Regions from separate parts of the Homo sapiens genome. Here region 2 is linked to region 1. The links are contacts of gene promoters, found by promoter capture Hi-C in human tissues and cell types (Jung and others, 2019). All regions are on one chromosome and are shown on one strand. The core of a region is centred on a gene start or on the middle of the fragment in contact, and the rest is flanking DNA. Distances in the headings are between cores, read along the strand shown.

Region 1 (3,945 bases), core at 25-2,524:
AGGAAATTTAAACTTCTGGGACTGAATCCATCTACTTTGAATGAATGGGACAAATAGCCAAATAGTACCTCAGTGTTTGTGATCTATGAATGACTTCCATCCCTCTGTATAAAGTGGACACACATTGCTGCCTGGCTCTTCATCCCAAGGGGCTCCTATCCAAACAGCTTATATAAATTGATACCTTCCTACCACCTTAGCCAATGTTAGGTTGAACCCTATGAAGTTGTCATTTTTTATGGGTCAAAGAGGTAGAATATTAGCAATTTCATATGGTTCCACCTGATACACCCTCACATACGCAGCAATAAGTTGTGCACCCGATGGAGAGGAAAAGGCACTGGGTGCGGGGAGAGGGGCTGGTCAGAGGCCTGAGCCTCAGTGTCCCCAATATATTCATAGCTCTGACCCCAGGACTGGAAGCCACTCACTCTTTGACTTCTTTGGAGGAAAAGTCCAGGTAGCGATTGCTGATCCACTGAATCTCAAACCAGTCCCGAAAACCGTTGTTGCCGCAGCATTTGAACTCGATCTGCAGCATGTCGATGGTCTTCTTCATGAAACACCTGCCAGGGGTGTCTGTGTCCCGGTAGTACTTCATGCCGTTCTTGAGCCCTTGGCCCAGGGTGTTCTCCAGCGAGCCCCGAAGCAGAAAGCAGCAGAGAGCCACAAGGAAGAGGATGATGTTGAAGAGAACACAGATAGCCAGGTACGGCTTCAGCCAGGGCTTCCATCTGGCATACTTGGCTGGGTCCAGGGCGTCGTAGCAGATCTTCCCAGCCAGCGAGTTGAAGACACAGGATAGCACCCCCATCCCTATCAATGAGTTGGGCACAAAATGGCTCTCAGAATTATTCATCACATCGCTCCTCTTTCGGAGTTCAATCTTCAGGAACAGTCCTAGGCTGAAGATGATGATGCCAGCCAACACGGAGAACCAGTTCATGAGCCAGAGCCCTTGGGCCAACTTGACCCGCTTCTTCTGGTCAAACTTGACTTTCAGTAGCGCCATGCTTGCCAAGTGTAGTCCGGGTTGCTTCCCACAGCACAGCTCCCACCCCAAACCTTAACGAGCCCAGAGGCGGAGACTTAGGGCCTTGGGAAAAGTGCAGATGGCCCAAGCTGTAGGGAGCTGCCCTGGGGGCTACCCATGTCGAGTCCCACTAGCCTGGGATCCCCGTGAATGCAGTAGTGGTGGCAGGGGTCTCGGAATCACAGCTTGAGCAGGGGATAGTCCTGGTCCTGGGCGTTGTTTCTTCAGCGCCCTTCCCAGCCAAGAAGGGGCAGCCTGAACGCTGCAGATTAAAAGTGGGATCCACAAGACATTTTGCTAATCTCTTTAGCCAGGTTCATCCCATTAGATAAAGCCATGCCACTCTCAAAACATGGTCAAAAGCAGCCTCCAGGTACATGCTGAACCAGAAAGCTCTGGGTACAGCTTGGAGAATCAGGAGCAAAGGGCAAGACTGGCCAGAAGAATGGGCTGTATCTGGATGTCTGGCTCAGACCGTGTTGCTCCCCAAAAGCATATTTCCAGGCCAATCTCCTTCAACATTTAAAACTTTCTGTAGGACAAATAAATTGTTATCCTCTCTGAGAAAAGAAATGACAGGGCCAGGCACAGTGGATCACGCCTATAATCCCAGCACTTTGGGAGACCAAGTTGGGTGGATCACTTGAGCCCAGGAGTTCAAGACCAGCCTGGGCTACATAGGAAGACCCCATCTCCACACACACACACACACACACAAAAAAAAAAAAAAAAAAATTAGCTGGGTATGGTGGCATGCACCTGTAGTTCTCCCAGCTACTCTGGAGGCTGAGGTGGCAAGATCACCTGAGCCTGGGGAGTTCAAGGCTGCACTGAGCCATGATCGTGCCACTGCACTCCAGCCTGGGTGACAGAGTGAGGCCCTGTCTCAAATTTTAAAAAGACAAAGAAAAGAAGAGAAGAAGGAAGGAAAGAAAGAAAGTGACAGATCGTGAGAAAACATTTGCAACTTGTAAAATTAAAAAGTAATATACAGTGGCCAGGCATGGTGGCTTATGCCTGTAATCCCAGTACTTTGGGAGGCCAAGGCAGGTGGATCGCTTGAGCCCAGGAGGTGGAGGTTGCACTGAACTGAGATCCCCACATTGCACTCCAGCCTGGGTGACAGTGAGACTCTGTCTGGAAAAAAAAAAAAAAGAATTAATATGCAAAAATGTTTTAAGTCTCACAAATTCACAATAAACAAAAATTCACAATCAAAAGACCAATAATCAACTGGAAAAATAGGCAAAAACCAGGAACAGACAATTCATAATTAGGAAACTTGAAAAGTCCAATAATCTGGAAAAGATCTCAACTTGGGTAATAAGCAGGAAAATGCAAATCCAAACAACAATAAAATACCAAACTTGGCCGGGCACAGTGGTTCACACCTGTAATCCCAGCAGTTTGGAAGGCCAAGGTGGGTGGATCACTTGAGGTCAGGCATTCAAGACCAGCCTGGCCAACATGGTGAAACCCTGTCTCTACTAAAAATACAAAAATTGTCTGGGTATGGTGACAGGCACCTGTAATCCCAGTTACTTGTGAGGCTGAGGAAGGAGCATCAATTGAACCCGGGAAGTGGAGGTTGCAGTGAGCCAAGATTGCGCCATTGCACTCCAGCCTGGGTGACAAGAGTGAAATGACGTCTCAAAAAAAGAAAAAGACCAAACTCGATCCATCAAATTGAATGTATGTCAAAATTCTGTCACCATACATCAACAAAGAGAGTGGAAGTAGAAGTGTACACTCTTGGTGAATCTGTACATTTATTATTATTATTAATTAATGGATTATTTCTTACAGTAGTTTTAGGTTTACAAAAAAATTGAACAGAAAATACAGGGAGTTCCCATTATTCTCCATCTCCCCAACCAGTTTCTCCTCTAATTAATATCTTGCATTAATGTGGTACATTTGTTACAATTAATGAACCAATATTGATGCACTATTATTAACTAAAGTCTATAGTTTACATTAAGGTTCAGTCTTTGTGCATATAATTCTGTCACTTTTGCCAAATGCATAATGTCATGTATTCATCATTATTGTATCATACAGAATACTTCCACTACTCTAATAACCTGCCATGTTCTGCCTATTCATTCCTCCTTCCCTCACTCCTCAGCCCTGGGCAACCACCGTCTAGATCTATAGTTTTGCCTTATCTAGAATATCTTACAGTTGGAATCATACAACATGTAGCCTTTTCAGACTGGCTTCTTTCCCTTAGCAATATATGTGATTAATGATTCTCTGTATCTTTTCACGGCTTAATAGCTCATTTCTTCTTATCACTGAATAACGTTTCATCACATGGATGTACCACGGTTTATTCCTTCACCTATCAGAGAATATCCTGGTTGATTCCAGTTTTTGACAATTATGAATAAAACTGCTATAAACATCCACGTGCAGGTTTTTGCTGAAAAATTTTCCATTCATCTGGGTAAATATCTAGGAGCACAATGGCTAGATTACATAGTAAGACTATGTTTAACTTTGTAAGAAACTGCCAATCTGTCTTGCAAAGTGACTGTACAATTTTGCATTCCTACCAGCAATTTTTACTTCATGTCCTTGCCAACATTTGATATTGTCAGTGTTTCAGATTTTAACCACTGTAATAGGTGTGTAGCTGCATCTTGTTTGAATTTGCAGTGCCCTAATGACATTTGATCTTTTCATGTGTCATGTGCTTATTTGCCATCTGCATATCTTCTTTGGTGAAGTGTCTGTTCAGCACTTTTGCCTGCTTTTATTTCTTTTTGAGTCAGGATCTATCTATGTTGTCCAGGCTGGTCTCCAACTACTATTCTCAAGCAATCCTCCCACCTCAGCCTCCTGAGAAGCTGGGATTACAGGTACCTGCCACAATGCCCAGCATGCTCACTTTTTAATAATGTTGTTTG
Region 2 (4,496 bases), core at 295-2,794, 130 kb after region 1:
GATAGTCAGGATCATAATCCTAGCAGGCAGGATATAAGGTTACTGGGGGTAGAAATTCCCAGCTGCAGCTTTTTCATCTGAGCACCACAAACACAGCAGCCCCGGGAGCAAGAAAATAGCCTGGTATCAACTCAGCATCCCCGCTGAATGGCATCAGGAAAATTCAGTGTGCCTGCAGATTGTTAAAGGATGTACTTTGCAGTTCCCCTGAAGTGATAAGAAAATACAATTATTAAATTTTTGGTTTGTTTATAATCTAACCTGAAGGTACCAGGGAGGCATGAAGAGGCTTGGTTGGTATTTAAAATAATCTGTTAAAGCTTTAGAAATGAAATTAATGTTTTCATCTTTGTCATGTTTCACAGGCTCAGAAAAAATGTCTGAATCAGACTTCCCCCATTTCTGCTCCCAAGACCACAGACGGCCTGAGGCAAGCACAGATCCCTGGGCTCTTGAGCACCACACTGCCAGGTCAGGAGCTTCCTCAGTTTGTCCCTGTCCTCCCAACACCACGGGATGCTCTTCTCACTTTTCTCCCTCATTCTGCACGAAAGCTTTCTGGCTTAATCTCGTCTCCACTCCGATTATTCCTTTCTTTCTGTATCCTTTCCGCAAATAATATACTGTGTTGCATCAACTCTAAGATAGCATTGGGCCGGGCACGGTGGCTCACGCCTGTAATGCCAGCACTTTGGGAGGCCAAGGAGAGTGGATCACCTGAGATCAGGAGTTCAAGACCAGCCCGACCAACATGATGAAACCCCATCTCTACTAAAAATACAAAAATTAGCCAGGCATGGTGGCACACGCCCGTAATCCCAGCTACTCAGGAGGCTGAGGCAGGAGAATCGCTTGAACCCGGGAGGCAGAGCTTGCAGTGAGCTGAGATCACACCACTGCATTCCAGTCTGGGTGACAGGGCGAGACTCTGTCTCAAAAAAAAAAAAAAAAAACCCCACTAAGATAGCATCAATTGTAAGATGTACTATCATTTTTTATACTACCAAAAAGAAAAACAAGCACTTCTATCTAAATTATGACACATTAAATTATGTGGAAAAAAAATACTTCTTAGAAACAATAAATTGAGGCCGGGCACGGTGGCTCACACCTGTAATCCCAGCACTTTGGGAGGCCGAGGCGGGCAGATCATGAGGTCAGGAGATCAAGACCAGCCTGGCCAACATGGTGAAACCCTGTCTGTACTAGCTGGGCATTGTCCTAGCTACCCAGGAGGCTGAGGCAGGAGGATCACCTGAGCCTGGGAGGTCGAGGCTGCAGTGAGCTATGATTGCGCCACTGCACTCCAGCCTGGGCGACAGAACAAGACCTTGTCTCAAAAAAAAAAAAAAAAAAGAAAAGGTATTTTACAGTACTTGTGACTTTGAAATTATCCCCATGTTGCTCTCTACATGCATGTTTGGAATTCTCCACCCAGACTGAAAATATTATGGACTATGTCTTCCGTTTTTTCTAAGGCTTTGAACATCTGCAGTACCCAATTAGTACTTAAAAAAAAAAAGGCAAGAAAGAGAAAAAGCTTGAATATTCCCAGTCAATTGCCTCTTTGGGCCTCCCTTTCCTTAAATTGTATTTTGGGATTCTGTAGTGCTGACAGATTACTGGCTTGAGGCCTGTTTTTCAGACTATAAATAATTTGAAACTATAGCATTTGGAGCTTCTATTTATTACTATTTACTTATTTATTACTTAAATAGGCTTTAATAACCTCTTCCTTTAGAGCTTGTAAGTAAATGCACTACCCTGCCCTCCTTCTTCACAGCAAGCAGCCATGATAAAGAAACCCGTTTCAGAATGCTCAACAGTCTGTACCCATTGGGTTCTAGGGTTATATGATGGACCCAATTTACTGTTTCTTTTGAACACTGTCTCATGTATTAATTCTAATAGGGCAGGATTCTGGAAGCAAAGTTATATCCGCATCCTTAGGAACCGCACAACCACAGCAGGAAAAAGTAGTTGGATCATCTCCTGGCCATCCAGCTGTGCAGGTAGAAAACTATTGGCATAGCCTCTTCCTAATGTTCGGCATAATTGAATGAAAATGTAGTCGTGCTATCTTTGTGGTTGCTGGCTAGCTTTGTGTGCACAGTCCACCCAGTCCCCTGTGTGCCCACAACAGGGTGGTCATTGAAGACCTTCCTGGTGGGCTGGGCCTTGTTATGTTTATGTTTCTGAGATGAATGTCTATTCTATTTCTGACATGTTTACAGTGCTTCATTAATCCATCATTTCCTCATGAATTAGTAATATACCAGCAGCTAGTACATACTAGGCACTCAAAAAATGTCATTTACTACTAGGTGATATCGTTCACTATTATATCAAAGCGAATCTCTTCTTCTTAGTTATACTGAGGGATTTTTGTTTTTCTGTAGTAGTAACCAGGCGTATAGGAAGTAGGCCATCCCTACGGTCTTTTGACCCAACTTTGACACTTTTTAAAGTCCAACTTTTTGGTTTTTGTTTGAGACAGGGTCTCACTCTGTCACCCAGGCTGGCATGCAGTAGTGCAATCACAGCTTACTGCAGCCTTGACCTCCCAGGCTCAGGTGACCCTCCTGCCTCAGCCTTCTGGGTAGCTAGGACAATGCCCAGCTGTTTTTTTGTATTTTTTGTAGAGATAGGATTTTGCCATGTTGCTCACACCTGTCTCAAACTCCTGGGCCCAAGCCATCCACCCACCTCAGCCTCCCAAAGTACCTGGATTACAGGTGTGAGCCACTGTGCCCTGTCTAGTCCAGCTGGGTTTTTTGTTTTGTTTTTGTTTTTGTTTTTGTTTTGTTTTGAGTTGGGGTCTCACCCTGTCACTCAGACTGTGCTGCAGTGGTGTGATCACAGCTCACTGAAGCCTCGATCACCTGGGCTCATGCGATCCTCCCACCTCAGCTTCCTGAGTAGCTGGGACTACAGGCACGCACCACCACGCCTGGCTAATATTTTTATATTTTTTTTAAGAGAAAACGTTTTGCCATGTTGGCCAGGCTGGTCTGAAACTCCTGGGCTCAAGCAATTCTCCCACCTCAGCCTACCAAAGTGCTAGAATTACAGGCTTAAGCAACCACTCCTGGCCTAGTTTTTTTTGTTTGTTTGTTTTTTTGATACATGATAGATGTACATATTTTCAGGGCACATTTGATAACTTCAAGTTTGGCTTTTAAACCTAAAAGATTTCAAACTACTAGTCTAAAATGGAAGGAAACATTTCTTGTTTTCAGCTTACTAAGACAGTTTCGTTTCCATCAGACCTACCAATTAGTGGTTGAATGAAACTTGCTGCAGTGTGGGACTGCCTGGAATACACAGTGAAGGATCTGTTCAGTTCTAAGGTTCTGAGATAAGGCCTATTTGTTTCCTTAACATGATGTAAAAAATGCCTCGTTAGATCACACACCTGGACTATATATAACAGGAGCTTAAAAGTGTGTATCCCATACTTACACTGAGAAGATGGATTAGATAGTATCTACTGACTTTTCAGATGTCTGTGGAATTTCAAAAATATAACGATGGGTCAGTGCTGTGGCTCACACCTGTAATCCCAACACTTTGGGAGGCCAAGGCAGGCGGATGGCTTGAGTCCAGGAGTTCGAGACAAGCCTGGAAAATATGGCAAAACTCCGTCTCTACAAAAAATACCAAAAAATTAACAGGCGTGGTGGTGCATACCTGTAGTCCCAGCTACCTGGGAGGCTGAGGTGGGAGGATCACTTGAGCCTGGGAAGCAGAGGTTGCAGTGAGCCGAGATTGTACCACCACACTCCAGCCTGGACGACAGAGCACGACCCTGTCAAAAAACATGATGATGATGATGATGATGATGATGGTGCATTTAGAGAGGAGGTAGGCATTCAGGCTTTAAAGTGCAAACTGAGTCCCTCTCAGGAACCGATTATACACCTTTCTGTAATCTTAACACAGTACAACTTTGTTTCATGGACTCTGTGTACTGGTTTTTTTTTTTTTATTTTTCAGCAGGGCACATTCTGTAGTCTTAGAATATGTTCTTGATAGGTAGTTGAAAATATGTGAACTATAGTGACCTTTATGTATAACTGTATTCTTTTTTCTATAAAAGGGAATAATAAGAGGTTTGTTTTGTCTTTAGGTGGAGAGTCATTCGGGAGGACAAAAAAGGCCTGCTGCGAAACAGCTAACGAAAGGAGCTTTGTGAGTTACTCTCGGAAATGACAAATCAATTCTGAACACTTCTTTGGGTCCCTAGCCTTCAATAAATATACCACAGAAAACAGGTTATAATAATGAGTATATTAGCCTTTTTAAAAATGTACTTTGAGGCAAGGCATGGTGACTCACTCCTGTAATCTCAGCACTTTGGGAGTCTTAAGGCAGGAGGATCACTTGAGCCCAGGAGTTTGAGACCAGCCTGGGCAACATGGCTCTGCAAAAAATACAAAAATTAGCCAGGCGTGGTGGTACGGGCCTGTAGTCCCAGCTACTTGGGAGGCTGAGGT

Evidence for each region. The method cuts DNA at HindIII sites, captures the fragments that hold promoters and counts their contacts. A contact is called where the count stands out against the background at its distance.
Region 2: a contact is called between a fragment that was not itself captured here and the fragment with the promoter of PRPH2 in region 1, in 2 of the 25 tissues and cell types used here (heart right ventricle and spleen).

What each region holds. Positions count from the first base shown.
Region 1 is chr6:42,721,323-42,725,267 of GRCh38, forward strand. It overlaps PRPH2 (peripherin 2), which reads right to left and starts at 1,275. Exons shown (of 3, transcript NM_000322.5): 1 at 432-1,275. The coding sequence starts at 1,012. The HindIII fragment of the contact is 25,287 bases long and covers 1-3,945 here.
Region 2 is chr6:42,851,727-42,856,222 of GRCh38, forward strand. It overlaps BICRAL (BICRA like chromatin remodeling complex associated protein), which reads left to right. Exons shown (of 13, transcript NM_001393499.1): 7 at 366-471; 8 at 1,912-2,012; 9 at 4,130-4,191. Among named protein-coding and RNA genes, the nearest start is that of RPL7L1, 26 kb to the right of the region's middle. The HindIII fragment of the contact is 4,425 bases long and covers 1-3,757 here.